Regions from separate parts of the Homo sapiens genome. Here region 2 is linked to region 1. Evidence: promoter capture Hi-C in human tissues and cell types (Jung and others, 2019). All regions are on one chromosome and are shown on one strand. The core of a region is centred on a gene start or on the middle of the fragment in contact, and the rest is flanking DNA. Distances in the headings are between cores, read along the strand shown. Region 1 holds the start of SPECC1 (sperm antigen with calponin homology and coiled-coil domains 1). Region 2 overlaps ULK2 (unc-51 like autophagy activating kinase 2).

The links. The method cuts DNA at HindIII sites, captures the fragments that hold promoters and counts their contacts. A contact is called where the count stands out against the background at its distance.
Region 2: a contact is called between a fragment that was not itself captured here and the fragment with the promoter of SPECC1 in region 1, in 2 of the 25 tissues and cell types used here (mesendoderm cells and pancreas).

What each region holds. Positions count from the first base shown.
Region 1 is chr17:20,005,712-20,010,720 of GRCh38, reverse strand. It overlaps SPECC1 (sperm antigen with calponin homology and coiled-coil domains 1), which reads right to left and starts at 1,362. Exons shown (of 15, transcript NM_001243439.2): 1 at 1,297-1,362. SPECC1-DT (SPECC1 divergent transcript) reads left to right here and starts at 1,461. Exons shown (of 1, transcript NR_186461.1): 1 at 1,461-2,666. RefSeq lists silencers at 691-870, 891-1,560 and an enhancer at 1,993-2,560. The HindIII fragment of the contact is 29,689 bases long and covers 1-5,009 here.
Region 2 is chr17:19,853,192-19,858,409 of GRCh38, reverse strand. The region is part of intron 3 of ULK2 (unc-51 like autophagy activating kinase 2); the gene reads left to right. Among named protein-coding and RNA genes, the nearest start is that of TRG-CCC3-1, 5.1 kb to the left of the region's middle. The HindIII fragment of the contact is 7,474 bases long and covers 1-5,087 here.

The DNA of each region.
Region 1 (5,009 bases), core at 113-2,612:
TGGAAGACAAGGAAAAAAGTAAAAACATGAGAGACATCTGTTGTTTAACAGACAATAAGATCACCTACTTGGAAGAGGCAAACGAATCAAGCGAAAAACTATTAAAACTGAGACAGGCTTTAGTATGGAGGCTCAGCTTCAGCTGTAGTTTGGGCTACCAAATTCAACTCGCTTGCTTGGAGAGTTAATCCTGCAAAGCTAATTTCTGTTGAGGTATTAGGATTGACAAGCCTGTGCTCCTCCCTCCTCCCCCATCTTCAACACTGAAATAACACGGTGTTTGGAACTGGATAACAGAATCTTCCAAAAACAAAAATTGTCCTGAAGGGCTGACTTGTGCCCTTACTCAAAAAACACTTTATCTGCTGCCTGCAGCTCCTACAGTTGCTGGTGGATAAGCCTGCCAACCAGCTCGGCGTAATTCTTCCTGCAGAGGGCAAGGAAGAGCACTTTCACAGGAAAATTTTTTTCCGAACTGTATGCCGCTTATTACATAAACTTACGTGCTGGCAAATGGAGCTCCAGCAAAATAAGATATTCAGAGTCAAACTTCCTTAGGAAAAAAAAAAAAAAAAAGCAAGCACATAACACTAATTTCCTTGCATGGGCACTGGGGAAGGAGGTCGTTACTTCCGCACGCCCGCAGGTCCGCACCACCGGGAAACCCACGGGCACCGCGCGCTGCCCCCGGGCCTTCCAGGTGCACTGCGCCGCGGCGCCCCAGCTGACCCGGGATGCGCAGCCCTAGCCCTTCCCCTGTCACCCCGGCCAGGAAGGGGCGGGAGCGCGGCGGACGCCGAGGGCGAAGGGCTTCTCGGTCCTCTGCACCACGCAGCACCCCCAAGGCACAACAGGGAGGGTGCGGGAGGCTCCCGAGACCCAGGAGCCGGGGCCGGGCGTGCCCGCGCACCTGTCCCACTGCGGCGAGGGCTGGGGTCGCCTCCAGGGCCGCAGCTGTCGGGAGCCACCTGGCTCTCAGTCCCGGGTCCCTGCGACAACCCTCGGGCCCGGAGGGGAGGAGGCGGCCACCTGCCGCTGCCACCTGCGGCACCGGTCCCACCGCTCCGGGCCGGGCAGGACAGGCCAGGACGTCCCTCCTGGGCTGGGGACAGGACACGCGACGAGGGGACCGGGGCCCCCGCGGCGAAGACGCAGCACGCCTTCCCAGAAAGGCAGTCCCGTGCCCCCACGACGGACTGCCGGACCCCCGCGCTCGCCCGCCCATCCCTTCAGACCACGCGGCTGAGGCGCAAAGAGCCGGCCGGCGGGCGGGCTGGCGGCGCGGCTAGTACTCACCGGCCCCGCTGGCTCAGCGCCGCCGCAACCCCCAGCGGCCACGGCTCCGGGCGCTCACTGATGCTCAGGAGAGGGACCCGCGCTCCGCCGGCGCCTCCAGCCATCGCCGCCAGGGGGCGAGCGCGAGCCGCGCGGGGCTCGCTGGGAGATGTAGTACCCGGACCGCCGCCTGCGCCGTCCTCCTTCAGCCGGCGGCCGGGGGCCCCCTCTCTCCCAGCTCTCAGTGTCTCATCTCCCTATCTGCTCATCCTCTGGTCGCACATAATCGATGTTTGGGCGTCCCAAGCCAGATGTGGACCCCATTTCCGCACTCTACACTGGAGGTTTTCTAAGGGTGGTGCCCGGACCAGCAGCTTCAGCCTCATCTGGGAACTTGAGAAAATGCAGATTCTCCGTCCCACCCAGCCTATTCGGTTTTTCCTGCACTAAAACCATGAAGGTGGGGCCCAGCAGTCCACATTCTCGCAAGCCCGTCAAGTGATTCTGAGGCGCCCTCCAGTTTGAGAGCTATGCTCACGGCCTCACCTCCGCCCCGCAAGGAGCCCGGTCTTGCCTGTGGCGCTAGCCGCACACGGACACCTCATCCTGCGGGGCCCGCCCCCCCGCTGCACCCTCACCGCCCAACGCCTCCTCCGGGATGCAGCGGAGGCGCCTGGAAGTCGGCAAGGTCAACATCCCCCTCAGCATCTTCCCTACCCTCACGGCTCCTCCTCCAGGGGTGCCTCATGGCCAGGGGTTAGAAAGAGCCACTGTGTTTCTTGACATGGAAGTGGCCTAAGACCTTAATGAAAACTGCAGGAGTGGAATGACAGAACCTTTGGTCATACTTGAGGGCGTGAAGCTCAAATGAGGAGGAAGGAAAGGATCCAGGGAGAATAACCAACCCTGGCAAGTTGTGGCGCCCAGGTAGAGGGGCGAGCCTAGGCTAGCGGTTCTCGACCAGGGCCGGTGTTGCCCCTCCTCGCCGCCCCGCGTACATTTGGGGAGGTCTGGAGACATTTTTGGTTGTCATGATGCGGGAGTTGCTACTGTTGCCTAAGTGGGTAGACACGAGGGTGCTCCTCAACATCCTACCTGAAGGACAGGACTGCCCCACAAGGAAGAATGATCCGGCCCCAAATAAGAAACCCTGGGCTGGTCAGCAACAACCCCTTTGTTCTGAGAAGAGAGGAGGAAAGAATAAAAGAAGTGGGGTGAAGTTTTGGTTTGGTAGAGGAAACTTGAAGACATTTTCACTGGAAAGGAAGAGAGGAAGAGGAGGGAGATGTCTGTAAGGACGAGCAAACCGGGTGACAGCTGATTTCCTCATATTGAAGTAATGAGTCCTAGTTATAATAAATTCCTAATAAAAACCCAGTTTATCCCTGCAATAAACTTGTCTTTTTTTTTTAAATATACTGCTTGATTCTGTTTGCTAATATTTTATTTACAGGCTTTGCATTGATATGCAAAAATGAGATGGGCAATAATTTTCTTTTTGAATGTCTAATGTTGTTTGGTTTCAGAATCAATGTTATGCTCACATCATAAAAAATTTGGAACCGAGGCAGGAGGAGTGCTTGAGGCCAGAAGTTCGAGACCAGTCTAGGAAACACAGTGAGACCCCCCCATCTCTACAAAAAAAAAAAAAGAAAAAAAAATGGGCATGTTTGCTTTTTCCTTTTACTCTGAACAATTTAAGGAGCATTAAAATTATCTATTCTTTGAGGTTTGATCATTTCCCAGTTAAAAATGTTCCTCCCAGCCTGATGCTTTCTTTGGGGAGGGTAAATCTTTTAAGGCTAGAAAAGTTTCTTCTGTGGCAATTTTATTATTTACATTTTAAAAATTATTCTAGAGTTAATTTTGATAAAGCATGTATTTCTTAAAACAAATTATCCTTTTTTTCCAGATGTTCAAGTGTATTTGCATAAAGTTGAGGAAAGTAGTCTTTTGTGAATCTTTTAACTTCTCCCAAATATCTTATTTTGTGTATTTTTGCTTCTTTATTTTGTTAACTTTTAAAAGTGTATTTTTTTTTCAAAGAATCAGCTCTTAGGTTTATGTTTTTGGTTATACTGGAGCTTTTTTCTTCTTCTTTTTAAAATATTTTTTCTCCTTTATTTTTTAGACGTATTTTGATCTAACGTAATCGGAAGAAGGTAAATTAGAATCTTTTGTTACTATTGTGTTTTTATTTCTCCTTATTTCTCTGAAGTCCTGCTTTATAAATAGTACCATGTTATTTGTGCATAAATATTCATTTGTCTTATATTCTTGGGAATTTTCCCACTTCATCATAAAATGACCTTCCTTGTCTCATTTAATGTGTTCAAACTTTGCCCTGAATTTAACTTTGTCTGATATTTTACCATCCTGCTGAATTTTGTTTGTTACCCCAAACAACCTTTGCTGTTTTCGTCTTTTCTGAACCCTTTATTTTAGGTAATCCCTTGAATTAGAGCACTAAGTTTTGCTTTGTGATTAAATCTGAAAATCTTTATCTTGCCATAGATGAGTTGAGCCCTATTCATGTGACAGCTATATTATGCTGTTTCATAGCCCTTTTGGTCCTTTTTTCACTCTTGCATTGCATATTTTGTGTTTATTGTGTTTTGTGTTTCTTCTGATAATTTGGAAGGTTTGTATTTTTATTCAGGGAGTTGCCTTATAATCATACTCCGCAATACACATCGTCCTCAGTTTCTTCAGACTGTCTGTTAACTCCCTATTCTGAATAAAAATGACATTGTAATTTCCCTCTTTTTTCTTTACCCCTTTTCTTCTCCTCACCTAATGTAAATGATTTTATCCTTCTTTAGTATTTGCTTTTTTAATTAACTACATTTATAAATATCTTTATCACTTGATTTTTAAATCAGCTTTGAATGAGATATTTGGATTCCTAGATATAAAAGATGTTAATTATACCATTTCCACGTTAGTAGGTTTATAAAATCATACATTCTGCTGTGTAACCATAATCCCACGTTTGTTTTAGTTCCACTCCTACAGTTAAAAGATTCAGAAGTATTATTAACAGTTATTTTGCCATAGTTTTTTCCCCAACCCATTTTGTGGTAAGTTATGATCCTGCTTTAGTTTCTTAAGAATAATTTATAGAGCAGAGTGTGGTGGCTCACGTTTGTAATCCCAGCACTTTGGGAGACAAGAGGTAGAAGGATCGCTTGAAGCCAGCAGTTCAAGACCACCCTGAGCAACATAGTGAGACCTTGTCTCTACAAAAAATTTTAAAATTTAGCCAGACGTAGTGGCGTGTGCCTATAGTCCCAGCTACTCAGGAGGCTGAGGCAAGAGGATTGCTAGAGCCCAGAAGTTTGAGGCTGCAGTGACCTCTGATTGTGCCACTGCACCCCAGTCTGGGCAAGAAAGTGAGAACCTATCTCTTTAAAATAACAATAATAACTTATGAAAATTATATTCCCTGAGTTTTTCATGTTTAAAAATATTTGTTGCCTTTATCCTGTAAAAGTTTGAGTATAAATTCTTGGGTTATACTTTATTTATTGAAGAATGTATAAGTATTGTCTTCTAGAATTGAGTGTTGCTGTAATGAAACCAGAAGTCAGCCTGGTTTATTTTTCCTCAGAAATGAGGTAATTGCCGGCCGGACACCGTGGCTCATGCCTGTAATCCCAACACTTTGGGAGGCCGAGACAGGTGGATCACGAGGTCAGGAGATTGAGACCATCCTGGCTAACATGGTGAAACCC
Region 2 (5,218 bases), core at 101-2,600, 150 kb after region 1:
TTTCTTTTTTGAGACAGGGTCTGGCTCTCTTGCCCAGGCTGGAGTGTGGTGGCATGACCACACCTCACTGCAGCCTCCACCCTTTGGGCTTAAGCCATCCTCCCACCTCAGCCTTCAAAGTATCTGGGACTACAGGCAGGCACCACCATGCCTGGCTAATTTTTCTATTTTTTGTAGAGATGGAGTTTCACCATGTTGCTCAGCCTGGTCTCAAACTTCTGAGCTTAAGCGACCTGCCCAGCTTGGCTTCCCAAAGTGCTGGGATTACAGGCGTGAGCCACCACACCCGGGCCAATAGTTACTATTTCCAAGTGTGCCAAGTGCTGTAAGGGAGAGCTCTTGGCGAGGTTTGAACAATATGGGGCCTAGGAAAATGGGACAAGGGAAGGCTTCCTGGGGAAATGATATCTGTAGAGACTGAGGGATGGGTGGGAGAAGGCTAGGTGGGGGTTAATGGGAGAAAATAAAGTAAGTTTCCCAAGGAGATGAAGGCTTCTGTAAAGACCACTGACAGGAGAGATCACTGAGTTTGAGGAACTGGAAGAAGGCTAGTGTGTCTGGAGTACAGTAATGAGAGCGAGAGCATAGTGTTAGATGATACTGGAGAGGTTAGCAGGAGCCAGATCTGATCTTTATCTTAAGGACAGTACAAAGCTATTGAAGAGTTTTAAAAGCAGGAGAGTGATACCGTTTTTGTTTTTCAAAAGATAAATCTCCTAGAGCACTCTGAGCATGAGATAAGTACTTTCACTTAGGAATACATAACTGTGTGATTGTCAGTGGCCTGGTTAAATATCTACCTCTTGGTAATTTTTAGTATCGCAAGAAAAAGATGATTAATTTAATAGGTGGTGCTCATAAAACTGAGACATCTGACAAAAAATAGAATTGGAACACCATTCTCATCATTTTCCAAAATCATTTCCAAATGAATTAAAAGCTTAAATATATAAAGTAAACAATAACAGTCTCAGAATAATATTTAAATGACTGTACAATCCAAGGGATGGAAAGACATTTTAAATCAAGATAAGAAACTCAGAAGCTGTAGTATCAGAAGCTCTAGTAGGGACATGTAAAACATTTTTTTTTTTTTTTTTTTGAGACAGAGTCTCACTCTGTCACCCAGGCTGGAGTGCAATGCCGTGATCTTGGCCCACTGCAACCTCCACCTCCCAGGTTCAAGCAATTCTCCCTGCCTCAGCCTCCTGAGTAGCTGGGATTACAGGCGCCCCGCCACCACACCTGGCTAATGTCTGTATTTTTGGTAGAGACGAGGTTTTGCCGTATTGGCCAGCCTGGTCTCGAACTCCCGACCTCAGGTGATCTGCCCGTCTTGGCCTCCCAAAGTGTTGGGATTACAGGTGTGAGCCACCGTGCCTGGCTATAAAAAATTTTAAAACTCTTTTTTTTTTTTTTTTTTTTTTTTTTTGGAGATGGAGTCTCGCTTTGTCACCAAGGCTGGAGTGCCGTGGTGCGATCTCGGCTCACTGCAAGCTCCACCTCCTGGGTTGACACTATTCTCCCACCTCAGCCTCCCGAGTAGCTGGGACTACAGGCGCCTACCACCATGCCTGGCTAATTTTGTTTTTGTATTTTTTAGTAGAGACGGGGTTTCACCGTGTTAGCCAGGATGGTCTCGATCTCCTGACCTTGTGATCTGCCCGCCTCGGCCACCCAAAGTGCTGGGATTCCAGGCGTGAGCCACTGCACCCGGCCGTAAAACTCGTTTTATAGCAAATAATACAATGAACAAATTGACATATATAAAAAGGAACAAACGATACATGTCATAACGTGAATTTCAAACTTTTTTTTTTTTGTGTGTGTGACGGAGTCTCGCTCTGTCGCCCAGGCTAGAGTGCAGTGGCGCGATCTCGGCTCACTGCAAGCTCTGCCTCCCAGGTTCCCCTCATTCTCCTGCCTTAGCCTCCTGAGTAGCTGGGACTACAGGCACCTGCCACCATACCCGGCTAATTTTTTGTATTTTTAGTAGAGATGGGGTTTCACTGTGTTAGCCAGGATGGTCTTGATCTCCTGACCTCGTGACCCGCCTGCCTCGGCCTCCCAAAGTGCTGGGATTACAGGCGTGAGCCACCGCGCCCGGCCTCAAACATTATTTTGAGAAAAATAAGCATGCCATATACTGCTACAGTATAATTCTGTTTTTGTGAATTTTGGGAAGAGTCAGAAGTAAGCTAGGGTGATAGAAATCAGAACAGAGGTTGACTCTTGGTCCCAGGGAGTGATAGGAAAGGGGCATGAGAGAACTTCTTGGGGTGATGGAATTGTTATGTATTTTGATTGGCAGGGTAGATACGTAGGTGTAAACATTTGTCACAACACATTGAACTGTACATTTATTTTTATTTTTAAATACTTATTTAGAAATGAGGTCTTACTCTGTTACTCAGGCTGGAGTGCATTTCTTCTGTGGTGCCATCATATCTCACTGCAGCCTCTAACTCCTGGGCTCAAGCGATCTTCCTGCCTTTGCCTCCTGAGTAGCTGTGATTACAGGCCTGTGCCACCATGCTCAGTGTATACCGTTATTAAAAAGAAAGAGCTATTTATATCTGGGTAAGAAAGAATGTTGGTATCAATGGAGACAGAGGCCTGGACAGATTAGTGAGATGTTTAGGAGATAGAATTGTTAGGACTTGGGCACTTGGACTGTAGGAGGTAAACAAGAGGGAATCAGAGTTGATAGCTCTTTGTCATGTTTTGAGATATTTTTCCCATTTTGTTTGGTATTTTTGTGGGGGGGTCTTACTTTAGACTTTTTTTCCTTTTTTTTTTTTTTTTTTTTTGAGATGGAGTCTTGCTCTGTTGCCCAGGCTGGAGTGCAATGGCACAGTCTCGGCTCACTACAACCTCCGCCTCTCGGATTCAAGTGATTCTCCTGCCTTAGCTTACCCAGTAGCTGGGATTACAGGCACCTGCTACCACACCCGGCTAATTATTGTATTTTTAGTAGAGATAGGGTTTCTTTTCTTTTTTTTTTTTGAGATGGAGTTTCGCTCTGTCACCCAGGCTGGAGTGCAGTGGCGCGATCTCGGCTCACTGCAAGCTCTGCCTCCCGGGTTCACGCCATTCTCCTGCCTCAGCCTCCCGCGTAGCTGGGACTACAGGCGCCCGCCACCATGCCTGGCTAATTTTTTGTATTTTTAGTAGAGACGGGGTTTCACAGTGTTAGCCAGGATGGTCTCGATCTCCTGACCTTGTGATCCACCCGCCTCGGCCTCCCAAAGTGCTGGGATTACAGGCGTGAGCCACCACGCCTGGCCTAGCCTCTTTTTTTTTTTTTTTTGAGATGGAATCTTGTTCTTTTGCCAAGTCTGGAGTACAGTGGCGCACTCTCAGCTCACTGCAACCTCTGCTTCCTGGGTTCAAGCAATTCTACTGCCTCAGCCTCCTGAGTAGCTGGGGTTATAGGCACCTGCCACCAAGCCCAGCTAATTTTTTGTATTTTTAGTAGAGAAGGGGTTTCACCATCTTGGCCAGGCTGGTCTTGAACTCCTGACCTCGTGATCCACTCGCCTCTGCCTCCCAAAGTGCTGGGATTACAGTCTTAAGCCACCATGCCCCCGCCGTGTCTTTAATATATGGAAGTTCCTACATGGTAGAATTTATCCAACCTGTTATTTAATGACCCCTAGGTTTCATATTATAGAAGATTTCTTTACCCTGAGCTTATGAAAATGATTCCCCATGTTTTCATCTAGTACTTAGGGTTTCATTTTTTCATATTTATATTTTTGATCTCTGGAACTTAGTTATGTACAAAGGGATAATGTAGGGACTCAACTTATTTTCCAGAAAGCCCAACCAGCTATCCCAGACTCTTACCTGTTTTTGAGGATATCTACAGAAGAAGTCTTCTGTAAGACTGTTAAAAAGAGTTAGGACTTAGGGAATTTGAAGAATTACAGCAAATCAGGGTCAGATTAGGTGAGAATCAATTTATAAATTTATTAATCAGTATTATATATTCTGAATATTTTTGCAACCTTTGGTATAATTAGTATTAATGAGATACACATTGAAGGAGAGTTTTTCCACAAACCTATGTTGGGTTTGTGTTAGATCAGGAAGCTAGAAATGCCTTTTTTTGTGTGTGCTTTTTTTTTTTTTTTGAGATGGAATCTCTGTTGCCCAGGCTGGAGTGCAGTGGCGCAATCTTGGCTCACTGCAACCTTCGTCTTCTGGGTTCAAGCAGTTCTCCTCCTTCAGCCTTCCGAGTAGCTGGGGTTACAGGCATGCACCACCACACCCAGCTAATTTTTGTGTTTTTAGTAGAGATGGGTTTCACCGTGTTGGCCGGGCTGGTCTCAAACTCCTGACCTCAGGTGATTGGCCCAGGGATTACAGGTGTGAGCCACTGTGCCTGGCCAGAATTGGCTTTCATATGTTGTATTTTGCATCTCTAAGTTTTGTAGAACTTGATTTGCTGTGGTGTCAATCAATGTTCATGTCCCTCCAAAATTCATATGTTGAAATCCTATCACTCATGGTGATGTTATTAGAAGGTGGGGCCTTGGCCGGGCGTGGTGGCTCCCGCCTGTAATCCCAGCACTTTGGGAGGCCGAGGCGGGGGGATCACGAGGTCAGGAGATCAAGACCATCCTGGCTAACAAGGTGAAACCCCATCTCTACTAAAAATACAAAAAATTAGCCGGGAGTGGTGGCAGGTGCCTGTAGTCCCAGCTACTCGGGAGGCTGAGGCAGGAGAATGGCGTGAACCCGGGAGGTGGAGGTTGCAGTGAGCTGAGATTGTGCCACTGCACTCCAGCCTGGGCAATAGAGTGAGACTCTTGTCTCAAAAAAAAAAAAAGAAGGTGGGGCCGAATTGTAGGAATGTTTCTTTTCTCTTTTCCTGTGAGATAAACCATAGAAACTGCCTGAGGGGTGGAGAATGAATTAAGAATATAGCAGAGAGATGTGAGGATTTGGGTTTAGAAACCAGGAATTAGGCCAGGTGCGGTGGCTCATGCTTGTAATCCCAGCACTTTGGAAGGGCAAGCTGGGCAGATCGCTTGAGTCCAAGAGTTTGGGACCAGCCTGGGCAACGTGGCAAAACCCCGTCTCTAGAAAAAATACATAAAAATTAGCTGGGCGTGGTGGTGCACACCTGTGGTCCTAGCTACTCGGGGGTGCTGAGGCAGGAGACTCGCTTGAACCCTGGAGGTGGAGGTTACAGTGAGCCAACATCACACCA